Regions from separate parts of the Homo sapiens genome. Here region 2 is linked to region 1. The links are contacts of gene promoters, found by promoter capture Hi-C in human tissues and cell types (Jung and others, 2019). All regions are on one chromosome and are shown on one strand. The core of a region is centred on a gene start or on the middle of the fragment in contact, and the rest is flanking DNA. Distances in the headings are between cores, read along the strand shown. Region 1 holds the start of C10orf126 (chromosome 10 open reading frame 126). Region 2 has its middle 40 kb from the start of LYZL1.

Region 1 (6,499 bases), core at 1,002-3,501:
GTTTCAGCTCCGCTCAGCATGGACCTATCTCCAGGCTTGTTGAACCACCCAAGCAGCAAGTCTGCACCATCCTCTAGGGTCTTTGCCAAGCATTAAGTCCCATATCCTGAGAAAATGCCCTCACATTCCTGTATTCTCCTTTATCCTGCCTCCTTGATCAAGCGCCTTCAAAATCCAGTTCCTTCCTTCTAGTACATGGGGGTGAATTTTTCACAGTTTGAGGGAGGTACAGTCTCTTTCTAGCTCATCAGTGTTGCCATAATATTCTTGGCTTGGTGATGTTGCGACTTACCTCTAGTGATTGGTCTGGCAACCAGGCAAGAAGTTGAGGATCCTGAGAAGCCCTCCTTGGCCCGTGGGGACAGAACTCTGTGGTGTTGGCCCATATGGGTAGTTTCAGATCATAACAGGGAAGGATGAGCCACCTCTGCAGGCTCTGAGGGCTTAGAAGAGTTTGAGAGCTCAAAATATTTGGAGGCATCCACCCAAATGTCCCCATCCCGTGCACAAGAGCTCCATGTTTTCCCAACCAGTGCTCTGATCTTTGTGTAATGATAATCATCTTTGAAGCTAGGCAAGCCTATTAAATCCATAGTTTGGTCTTCTGCTTTTTCTACACTGAATGGAGTGAATATGGGCCCCATTCCTGGAGGCCCTCAGGCCTTCACAAGTGGCTTTCAATTGCTCCCTAACTGCCTACAGCTTTTCATTATCCTAATGTAGAGCCTCAATTCAATTGAGCAACAAGCAGCCAATTCCATTGTCCTTGGATACCTTGCTTCTCTCTGACCTCTCAAATGCCTGAATCCTCTCTCCATCCGGGGCTTTCCCGTCCACCAGAACATTCTTCCAAGTCACTGACATTGAACGTTTTAGGCAGGGCTCAGTGGCCCGTGCCTGTAATCCCAACACTTTGGGAGGACAAGGCAAGAGGATCACTAAAGGCCAGGAGTTCAAGACCAGCCTGAGCCTTGCTCTGTTGCCCAGGCTGGAGTGCAGTGGCATGATCATAGCTCACTGCAGCCTCGAGCTCCTGCGCTCAAGCAATCCTCCCGCCTCAACCTCCTGAGTAGTTGGGACTCCAGGCATGAGCCACCATGCCTGGCCGCAACATTCAGATGGATTTTTAAACTACCTGAGCTAAGTTAATTTCCTCATAGATTGGATGTGGATGTGAGAGCAAAAGAAGAGTCAAGGATGACCCAAGGGTTTGCTTTGAGCACATTCCTCAGTGCTTCCAGGGCATATGGCCTCTGAATGGTGCCCATGGGCTTATAAATCCATCTCCTCCCAAGAGATAACACATTTATTTTGTCCCTGGACCTTATGAAAGTTGTCAGAATCAAAATAGAATCACTAGTGTTTTTTAAGGAAAACAACAAACAAACAAAAAACCTGAACTGGATGCAGTGGTTCATGGCTGTAGTCGCAACTCAGGAAGCTGAGGCAGGAGGACTATTTGAGCTCAGGAGGTTGAGGCTGCAGTGAGCTATGATCACACCATTGCACTCCAGCCTGGGCGACAGAAAGAGGCCCATCTCTAAAAAACAAACATAAAAAGACTTCACTCTCATCACTCTTGAGATTAAGGATTTACCTAAGTAGTAAAATATGTCAGATCAGATTCTGGCCTCAGGAACTCTGAATCTGGGATGTGAAAAGGTTTCTGGAGAGGCATTCTGTTTCTCATATCATTAACCACAGGAAGATATTATTTGGTATACAAGAGGACATTGCTTAAAGAGGTGAGAAACAGAAACTATCTCTCCCTTATATTTCTCCAAATACCTTGTAAAGTTGTGAGTTAAAGAAAAAAGAATGATGTTCACTCAAAGGGGAGATGCAAAAATAAAAAGGTAAAACCTTTTCCCTTACCCTAAGGAGATAATGTGTGCATTTTAAAAAAGTTCTAATATTGTTTCTGCAAGTCAATATATAAGCATTATTGAAAAGTCCAATCTTGCCTGTGTTTTACAGCTCTCAGCTCCTTTCAGGAAGCAACTAAATCAGAAAACAGTGTTCTCTCTTCCTTGGAGCTGGCACAGGTTTTGATAACATCGATTGAATGCCAAGCGTAAGTACAGATTGGAAGTTAGAAGTATTGCTATTGACCGTTTTCTAATATGTCCTTCAGCTCAGTAATTAATCGATTTGTGACAAAATGAATAAGAAGCTGAGGTCTTCTAAGAGCTTACCATGTGGCAGACGCGAGCTCAGTGCTGTACATTCGCATTCATGCTCTTCATCCCTGTCTCTCAAGCCACTCGTCACACCCACACTCTCCGGGCCAGGAGGCTTGCACAACCTGCACTGGGAAACTTTCTCCCACCTGTTCTTGACTCCTGAAACCCCTCCACGGTGCCATCAGCCTGATCCACTAATAGCAAAACGCCTCACATCCCAAACTAACTTCCAAATAGTCCCTCCTTGTTCTGACAAAAACTGACTCTTCCCTGAGGACGATGCTCACATCTTCTCTCATGCGCTGGCTGTTTTTCTTTTTCTTTTTTTGAGATGGAGTCTCCCTCTGTAGCCAGGCTGGAGTGCAGTGGTGCGGTCTCAGCTCACTGCAACCTCCACCTCCCGGGTTCAAGTGGTTCTCCTACCTCAGCCTCCCAAGTAGCTGGGATTACAGGCACACACCACCACACCCAGCTAATTTTTGTATTTTTAGTGGAGACGGGGTTTCACCATGTTGACCAGGATGGTCTCAATCTCTTGACCTCGTGATCTGCCCGTCTCAGCCCCCCAAAGTGCTGGGATTACAGGCGTGAGCCACTGCGCCCAGCCACTGGCTGTTTTTCATTCCAGGCCCTCCTGCCACCTCCTGCAGACCTGGAGGTGATGGAGGGACCCTGCTGGTCCTCTTTTCCCCTTCCAGAACCTTCTCCTTCCCTTCTACTGCAAATCTCGTACCATCATCATCTATCACCCCTGAAACTGTCCCTAGAAACTTTATACAATTAATCAGAAGAGAAGGGAGGGAGAGAAACAAAAATAAGCCAAGCTTGCACATACTCAGTGTTAGTCATGGGGTCAGCTGTTCTCTGATCCTTCCTCATAGTGTTTTGCTACCTATTGCTCCAGAATCACACAGACCCTGTCACAAGATTAGAGTCCCCCTTCACTGCTCCACAGATAACAACTGAACATTGTGAAATGTTGCTTTCCATTTGAGATATTCTTGTAGGTCATGCATACTGATGAAACTACTGACGCCAGCTGGTCTGAAGGACCCCACGAGAAGCTGACTCACTGAAGAATGCAGTTTCTACATCCTGATGATTTCATCCCCCTTTCCCCAACCAATCAATGACTATAGTTTTTCAGCCCCTCACCCCCCATAATCCCCTTGAAAACCTCAGCCTAGAACTCTTCGGGGAGATGGATTTGAGGGTCTTCTCCCATCTGCTCACTCGGCCTCCCTGCTGTCATCAAACCCTCTCTCTGCTGCAAAGCCTGCTGTCTTGGTGTATTGGTCTGTTTCTGCACAACAGGCATACAAACATGTTGGTCCTGTAATACCCCTGCCCAACATTGTTCACCACCTTTTTCAACAACATCAGTTCTCAGCCCATTGGCATCCTCCCCAATACTTCTCCTCTCTTTTCTGAGCATGTTCAATGCATAGATAATAATCTTTCCAAAACTCCACCATCATAGGTCATTAAACTTCTCTCCTCCTTCAGGCATCTTGACCTCTACCCTCCTAGAAACAGTCACTCACTTTGATGGCAATACATGGATCTTGTCATGCACATTCATTGCAGTCCTTAGCCCCTTTTAACTTCTAATTACTCTGGGGCTCAGTCGTTGCTGTTGTTTTCATCTCTGTCTCTACTTACTCCGTTGGAGATCTCATGTGGTTCCATGGCTTTAAATACTACCCACACACTGATAACTCCCAAATGAATATCTCCAGTCCAGTCCTCTGTCCTGAACTCCAAACCTGCATATCCAATAGCGTACTCATCATTTTCACTTGAATATCTAAAATACTTCTCTAACTCACACGTCCACTACTAAACTGATTTTCCCTACCTATCCCACTGTACCCACAACCTTCCCCATGTTAGTTAGTTGATGACAATTTCGTCCTTGTGGCCTAAAACAGAACACTTCTTGGATTCATCCTTGACTCCTCTCTTTCTCCCCTATCCTACATCCAATTCATCAAGAATATCCCTTGTCTCTTTCTTCAAAACACATCCAGATTCTGACAACTTCTCACTGCCTTTGCTGCTCTTATTCTGATCCCAATACCATCTGGAGGACTGCTCTAGCCTCCTGGAGGCTGCCTTTACTGCTCTTGTTCTGATCCCAATACCATCTGGAGGACTGCTCTGGCCTCCTGAAAGGCCCCCCTGCTCCTATACCTTGCCCCTTATCATCTATTCCATGTGATTCAGGCTTCTGTGACCTCTCTAGTCTCAGCTCCTACCATCCCAGCTCCAGCACAGCAATTCCCTTCTGCTCCTCAGTCAACCTCCAGGCTCCTTCCTTTCCTCAGCCTGAACATCATGCCGTCAAAGATCCACACGGCTCACTTCCTCTCCCTGTCTAAGACTTTATTCAAATCTCATGATCTCATATTGTCATAAGCCAGTTCTCATCATCCTATTTAAACTCACAACTTTAGCTCCTTCCTCAAACACACTATTCCTTTATCCTGCCCTACACTCTTCCTTTTCTTTGTTATTTCTTTCATTTTGGACAGCATGGCATTTATTATCTTCTGACAGTCTATATAATTTACTTTATTATTATGTTTATTATTGATTATGTTTATATTGAATTCCTTTCATCCTCTTCTTGGTAGAGATAGAGTCATTGAGCACGATAATACAGAAGCTGTTGTGTTGCAGATTACCATGGCAATAACGACAACAAAAAAAAGTGCAGTCTTTTTTTTTTAGGCTCCAATTTGAAGACTGCAAGAATCTATCGATAGAGACAAGAACAGGTCTCAACCACAAGAAGCTGCAGCAATATGAAGGAAGGATAGATGGGCAAGGAGAAAAAGGGCAGAAATGGAAGAGAGAAGGGGCTTTTGAATGTCAGTTCAAAGTGGGTTATGTTCAGAATAAAATATGACCTAATCAGAATGGAGAAGAAGCATCTGGACTCTCTGAACCCCAGCCACTGAGGAATAGGGGCCTCTTTCTGTTAATGCACCCTTTCCAATGTGATAAGGCATCAAAACAGGGTGACCGTCTTTTAAAATTACTAATAAGGAAGAAAGTCTACTAGTATGAAGCAATCATTTTTAATCCATTTTTTGATTCAACAGAATTTTTCAAGAGCCTACTGTGTGTAAAGTATTGTGGTTATACTATGGAAGATTTTAAATGGAATGAGAAATTATGTCATCCTGAAGATGCTAGAATATAGTAGAGGGAGGCCAGGCACAGTGGCTCAGGCCTGTAAACCCAGCACTTTGGAAGGCTGAGGAGGGCAGATCACTTGAGGTCAGGAGTTCGAGACCAGCCTCGCCAACACGGTGAAACCCCGTCTCTACTAAAAATACAAAAATTAGCCAGGTGTGGTGGCGGGTACCTGTAATCCCAGCTACTCAGGAGGCTGAAGCAGGAGAATTGTTTGAATCCAGGAGGTGGAGGTTGCAGTGAACTGAGATCTCACCACTGCACTCCAGCCTAGGCAACAGAGAGAGACTCTTGTCTAAAAAAAAAAAATATATATATATATATACACACACATATATATATACACATATATATACATATATATACACACATATATATACACACACATATATATATACACATATATATATACACATATATATACACATATATATACACACATATATATATATAGTAGGGGAAGAGGGCAAATAAACAGATTACTATAAATATAAAGTAGAAATTTTCATTATTGAGGCACAGCAAATGTATTAAGAACAAAGGAAGGGATTATATATTCTGCATGAGGCTAAATCAGCAAGCACCCTGGCTACCAAACTGCAAATAAAGAAGGGACGCTTTCTTTCCTAGCAGCAGTTTATGCTGATTTGAATCAAAAACGCTTTCTCTAGCACGCTAGAGAAACAAAACCCACAAAGTGATAGGCACAAGATAGAGACTTCAGGGTCCTGTGCTGGAGATCTGATGAGTAAACCAAAGCCATGACTCAATAATAGGAATTTGTCTATGGTTTGTTTCAGTATGAAGATCTCTAAGGAAATCCCTTCTGTTGCTTGGCATGGAAACATTGTGAACAACTAGGGACAAATCCCTAGGGAAAAAGGGACTCTGGGGATTACAACAGGGGTTCTTGAGTTCAGCCATGCCTCCAAAAATAGAAAGTACCCCACTGTTGCCCACTGTGGAGAATGTGAATTTGCTTTATTGACAGAGCTTCAGACCTAGAATGAATGATTTTATCTTCTACAATATGGCACAGAGTGTTGTCATTAACAATTGATATGGAGGGCACAACATTTATTAAATTTTTTTAAACTTTTCTTTCCAAATACTGA
Region 2 (6,499 bases), core at 2,071-4,570, 480 kb before region 1:
TCTCAGAAGCTGAGAGCACAGCAGCCATTGCCCAGATCAGAGCTTTACAAACACAGGGTCAAGATTCTTGGGCGAGTCCTGTCAGTTGTGAGTTTTGACTGCAAGCGAAAGAGCACATACACTTAAAAATCACTCAGCTGAAACAGAACGGATTCAATGTTTTCCCCAAATAATGCCATGCTCCTTCCATGCAGCAGTGTGATTTCAGGCCTAGGGTAGAGAAGAGAAGACTTACAGGTTAGCAGGCTGAGAATACCACACCACCTCTACCCTGGCATGTGTGGGGTCTCAACAGTGAGGCGACTCATGAGTTCATTGGCCAGGAATTTCTCTGTGCAATAAAGGCTGAGAAATGCTGGCTTGTGGCATATGGCAACTAAGGTTGGGCCGGGTGACCTGTGTTGGTTTCAGGGCCTCTGCTGGTTGCCCTTCCACGGAAGACCTCCATATCCAGTCTGCCACATACCCAGCAAGCTAGGTTTAGGCATGGTGGCCTCACTTACTTACTTAATGATTAGTTTTTAAACACTGTGGTAGGGGCCAAGGATATAAGAGGGAAAAGTCCCAGTTCCTGCCTTTTGGAGCTGACCATCTACTATAGATCTGTGTGCTATAATGAATCACCAAAATTTTGGATCATGTGGGAATGTAGGTTATAGGAGGTAGCATTTCCATTTATAGATGACAATCAAAAGCCATTTATGACAGTATGAGTAGATACTTGAAATCATACTCTAGGTACCTCATACAAGTGAAATCATTCAGTATTTACCATTTTGTGACTGTCTTATTTCACTTAACGTAATATCCTCAAGTTTCATCCACGTCGTTGCGTGTGTCAGAAGGGGAAAGCCTTTCCTACAGCCTAATCATGAGGACACACCAGGCAAACCCAGAGGGAATGGCAGTCCCCAAAATATCTGGCCAATACTCTTCAAAAGTGTCAGGGTCCTGAAAAACAAGGAAACACAGAGAATCTGTCACAGATTAGGGGATACTAAAGAGACACAATGACTAAATCCAGTGGGGTATCCAGTGTGGTCCTGGAACAGAAAAAGGATTAGTGGAGAAACTGGTGAAACCCAAACTGAGTCTGTGGTTTATGAGTAGAGTTGTGCTTGGGATACTCCACGTTTTTTCCAAGGCAGCAGCTCTGCTGGTGATGTCAGACCCGTGCTTGGTCTTCAGGCCTCCTTGTAGTCTACTGCCCCCATCAGAGTAACAATGTGTCTCCGCCATGTGTTAAAACCAACTTCTTTGGTTTTCTCAGTCTGACCCCAGAGTAGGCCTTGTCCCTCTTCCTCTGGGGCCTTCCATCTTGTCCCACCTCAAAGGGGCTGGAGGGGGGCAACTGAGCCCAAAACTCCAAACCCAAAGGCTTAGCCATACTTGATGCGAGAAGGAAGGGGAAATTTCCTTCTTATTCTCTTTGATAATGAGAAGAAACACCAGATCAATTCTCCGTGACACTCATTAATCAATAGCAAAATCCATGGCTATTTTAAAATAACATTTAAAAATAGGCACAAATAATGTTGATGGAGGAAATACTGCCATCCCTTGTTGAGAGATCAGCTTTGAATGTCTTCTTCTCTCAGAAAAATCTTCACTCTCTCCAAAATTAGTATCATCCATTAGGATAGAGCTAGGAACTATAACTGAAAAAAAAAAAAAAACTGGAGCCAGTGTTCTAAACAAGTCTTCCATTTGTTCTTTATCTGAAGTCTAGGCTTTCCTGATGAACAGGCTAAGGTTTTGGTGTGTTATCTTTTCTGCCACTGGAAAAACCAGACAGGAATGAAATGTATGTTGAGTATTTATTGAACATCAGAAACTATGTTCATTTGTTCATATTCACATTTGTTTCTTTAATCCTAAGAATAATGCCATGAGTTAAGTATCTTACTTTACAGAGGAGTCAACTGCAGAGATTAAACTAATTTCCATCACACAGTTAGCAAGTGAATGAATCTAGAACTTGAAACCAAGTCTCTGATTCCGAAGTTCAGTGTTCATTCCATTAACCCATGGTGCTAACAGAGAGGAAGATATGGGACTTTCTTTTCACTTCATTGAATTATTTTATGTAAGGATGTGTGTATGTAGTGTTTGAGTGTTTGATAATTGACAAAACCTGGATGCTACAATAATAAGAGGGGAAGGAAGAGGGAGAAAGAGAAAGAAGAATATGGTGGAAAATACAGACAGGCATAGATACACACGCGCACTCCATGTTCCTTTGACCTCAGCCAGCCGGTGGGTGGAGGCATTGCAAAGAAGTGGGTCTTTTGAAAGACATTGACATTAGAAAGGTTGTCAACAAACCTTCTGACAGCTGTTTGCTAATTATTACTTCTAGGGGAAAAGTGTGAATGTAAGTTGTGTCTGAATGTTTTGTTGGAAAAAAATCTGGAATGCATAGTTCCATTCTCCTCTATAATCATAAATGGATTTTCTTGCAATTGTATTTTCTCTTGCTAATGAATAGTAAACAACACTGATTATAGGAGTTATCTAATTCTTGGTGCCCCCCTTGCTGTGGCCTCCCATCACTGCCAAATCCCCTTCTCTCTCTTCACACACACACACACACACACACACGCACACACACACACACACAGAGAGAGAGAGAGATCAACACATAAATCAGCAAGCCATGTTGACCCTTACGCAATGCCATGTGCTGTGAAAAGCACCGGGAATACAGTTCATACAATTAAGGGCCAATTATGTGCTTATTGGCTCTTGACCTAAGAGGAGACACAACGTCTTCAGGGCAGGAATTGTGTTAATGCTCTGTTGTTCTCAGGGGCCTCATAGAGAGCTCTGTTTCACTTGGGGAGAATTTAGAAAGCAGAGCGCCCTTAATATCTATTTCAAATAGAAGTAAATGCACTGAGTATAAAATTAACTTTCTCTCAAGTGGTGGTTACACAGCTAGGCAAGATTGGTTCAGAATAATGAGAGCCAATTGGCTTTGCAAAAATGGGAGGAGGTGGGGGAGACCAAAATGTGGGTGATGTTTGGGGCAGTAGATGGAAGGTGCTGCTGAGCTGCTGCAGAGATGACCTGGGGTAAGCAGTAGACCACGAGCATGCAGCTCACTCAGGAATGTGGGAAGTCATCCCAGGCATCTTCTCTGTTCTCATTTGGAAAGCACGCCAGGGCAATGGCAGTTGCCAGAGTTTTAGGTCATGACTGCTTCCATAAGAAATATTATGATTATCCATATTCCAAATTATCCTTCAGTACGAATGGTAGACATCAAACAAACCACCTCATTTTAAGGTGGAGTCACATAAGTTTCACAGCTGCTAACCAACTGTTTGAAGACTTTCAGGGATGGTTCCCTCTTTTTTTTTTTTTTTTTTGAAAAGAAGTCTCACTCTGTCACCCAGGCTGGAGGACAATGGCGCGATCTTGGCTCACTGCAACCTCTGCCTCCTAGGTTTAAGTGATTCTCCTGCCTCAGGCTCCTGAGTAAGTAGGATTAAAGGCATCTGCCATCATGCCTGGCTATTTTTTGTATTTTTGTAGAGACGGGGTTTCACCATGTTGATCAGGCTGGTCTTGAACTCCTGACCTCAGGTGATCTGCCTGCTTCGGCCTCCCAAAGTGCTGTGATCACAGGCGTGAGCCACTGTTCCCAGCTGTCTTTTTTAAAATATATTTTTTTTAAATAGAGAAGGAGATCTTGCTATGTTACCCAGTCTGGTCTTGAACTCTTGGCTTCAAGCAATCCTCCTGCTTCAACCTCCCAAAGTGTTGTGATTATAGATATGAGCCACTGACCCCCACCAGGGATGGTCCTCTCTTGATACTACCTCAGATCTTTGAGCTGAAGAATAAGAAAAGGAAGAGTGTGAGGAGGCGTGAAGAAGTGGATAGATGCTGGGCATCTTATCTCATCCCTGAGGTCCAGGGAAAAACAGGCTTCAAAGTCAAAAGGATACATGGATGCAAGTTCTGGTTCTGCCCTTTACCACCTGCAAGGTCTTTCCAAGCTTCCTGAATGTCTACAGCCTTAGACTCCTCCTATGTAGGGTGAGTTGTCTGAGAAATAAAGGTAATGTATGAAAGATTCCTGGTATAGTGAGTTCTTAGTTATATGTAGCTACTATTATTATTTTATAAATGTTTCAAACATTGATGTTGGTGGTCACTATAGCAATATCTCACCGCCTTAGGACTCTCAGAAGTTCCTGTAGCTCAGATGTCCCAACCCCCAATTACAGAAATGCTGGCATGGAGCAGGTCATTGGATAAAGACCTCAGTTTCTCCAGTTGCCTCTCCATAAGGGGAGGGCTGAGTATATACGTGGCCAATAAACGGCAACATCTATTACTAACCCAAAGAAGCAAACGATTCACATGACTGCATTGGAATGGAGGTTACAGAACTGAAATAGGAGAAAGCACAAGCAAATTTCTTATGCCCTCAGATTCAGCACGGAATATGCTGTCTCAACCCGCTTGTCCGTGGACAGCCTTGACTGTCTCCTGGGGAAGAATATGAAGAAGCTTTCCTTTAGAAGATGCCATCAGGGAAGACTGGACTAAATCAACAGTTGGAGAAATAATGATGTGTAAATCAGAGTGAGGCCATTTCACTGTGAGGTTCATGTTTGCTTTAGGATGCTTTGGACTTTGAAATGAGAAAGTTGACACACCATGGGGTGCTGTCTGTAAGGGTGGGAAACTACAGACTTCAGAGCGCCTGGGACCTGCAAATATTTGGCTTTATTTTTTTCAAAAATCAACTAGAAATAAACTTACACTGGTAAGTTCTAGCTTTAATTCCTTCACATACTTGTTCTGTTCCATTTTTATTACTGCCATTGCACTGGGTGCCCATTAAACGTAATGCATACACACACAACATCAACAACAATGACCAAAACTATTGCTTGTGCAGTTAATAGAAACCAAATTTCCCAGAAGCTTGCAACTCCACATGTCACATGTTTTGCTTTTTTCCCACTGATTTAAGAATCTCTCCCTAAGCTAATTTTCTTCTCCGTTCGCTCTACCCCAGGCCCCAAATGCCCATGGTCTAAAGGTCTTTTGTCAACCACACTCAAAGACTTCCATCTCCTTGAGGGTGAACTTGTCTGCCTGGTTTCATTACTTGCATGGCACTCCTCTCAGATGGGGACTTTGACCTTCTGAAATTCCTGTTGAAGATTAAATACCAAACCCAGCAGTCCACAGGAGAGTTAACAGACGGTTTCAGTACACACAGCAAGACTTCCAGAGTGGTCAAATTATTAATCCACGGGAAAATGCGGATCAGATGGTCAAACGCAGGACATAACTCACATAGGGAACCGGCTTTTGCACTGGGAGCCACTGAGTCCTAGGGATAGAGCCACGCTGCTCTGGGCTAACAGGAAATCCCAAGTTTGGGCTTTTTGTTTTTTCCAAAGCACATAAATGCAATTGATTCACTCTTTGTGGAACTCTTTGGAGCTTCAGTGCCACTCTAGATGGCTTCTCCTGGCCTCATCTAGAATATTTCTTTTTTGAAAGTCTTTTTGGAAGGCTGAGTTAGAACTGCTGTCTCTTCTCTCCTCCACTCTCTTTTGCCATTTCGCATTCCCATTTTAGGCTTTTCTAGTAGTTTAAAATATTACATGGTTGATGTATTAAGATAAAATTATGGAACCTACTTGGTCATGAGAAATATATCCCATAGCTATACTAGGTCTTTTGAAATTACCAAGTCAGCAGGTAGGAAAGTCAGGAATACAGTTGAGAAATGTGTGTCCTTCATTCAGCATGAACATTTGCTAACAAATGTTTTGTAACTGGGTAGAGACTCTAAGTGTGTAAACTTTCTGGAACATCTCCGAATTTGGTTCAGGATACTTTGCACAATTGTCTCTTGATCAATTCAGATTTCTTCCTTGGTCCCTTCTTTCTGTTGCTCGCCCTTTGGTTATTTGTTACTTACTCTCTGGTACAAGGAGGGAAGGGTCCCAGAGAGAAAGAAAAATACCCCTCCATATTCTTTCCAACATGTTTTCCAACTGTTCACATTTCCTCGGGAATGGGAGGCTAAAATTCTGGGTGAACTCTGTTTTGGGCTATGTATTGAGGTAGCATAGTACAATGGTCAAGAAGAGAGATTTAGTATCTGAAAGACCTGGAATTGAATTACTTGAACTAATGGACTAACCTTATTAGTTAATTAACTAGGTTAATCAACTAAACTTGTGCAAATTCATTAAACTCTCTGGGCTTTAGTTTTCTCATTTGTAAAATAGGATAAGATTAGTTTCATAGGATTGTTAAGAATATTCAGTTAATGAATGAAAAGTCCTTAGCTGTGTTTCCAACATAGAAGAACATTTATTAGGTATTATTATTATTATGTCATTAGTTGTTACCCTCTGCAATGCCCATGAATCTGTTGTGTGTAGAAAATTTTGATTTTTCAGCTGACAAACCATTATACCATGGCCCCAACACTTTATGTTCAGTGTTGCAAGGTACTTTT

What was found. The method cuts DNA at HindIII sites, captures the fragments that hold promoters and counts their contacts. A contact is called where the count stands out against the background at its distance.
Region 2: a fragment that was not itself captured here is called in contact with the fragment with the promoter of C10orf126 in region 1 in 2 of the 25 tissues and cell types used here (H1 embryonic stem cells and mesenchymal stem cells).

Annotation. Positions count from the first base shown.
Region 1 is chr10:28,842,160-28,848,658 of GRCh38, reverse strand. It overlaps C10orf126 (chromosome 10 open reading frame 126), which reads right to left and starts at 2,251. Exons shown (of 5, transcript NR_164114.1): 1 at 2,196-2,251; 2 at 1,396-1,540; 3 at 293-443. The HindIII fragment of the contact is 9,674 bases long and covers 1-5,177 here.
Region 2 is chr10:29,325,793-29,332,291 of GRCh38, reverse strand. No RefSeq gene overlaps it. Among named protein-coding and RNA genes, the nearest start is that of LYZL1, 40 kb to the right of the region's middle. The HindIII fragment of the contact is 5,763 bases long and covers 439-6,201 here.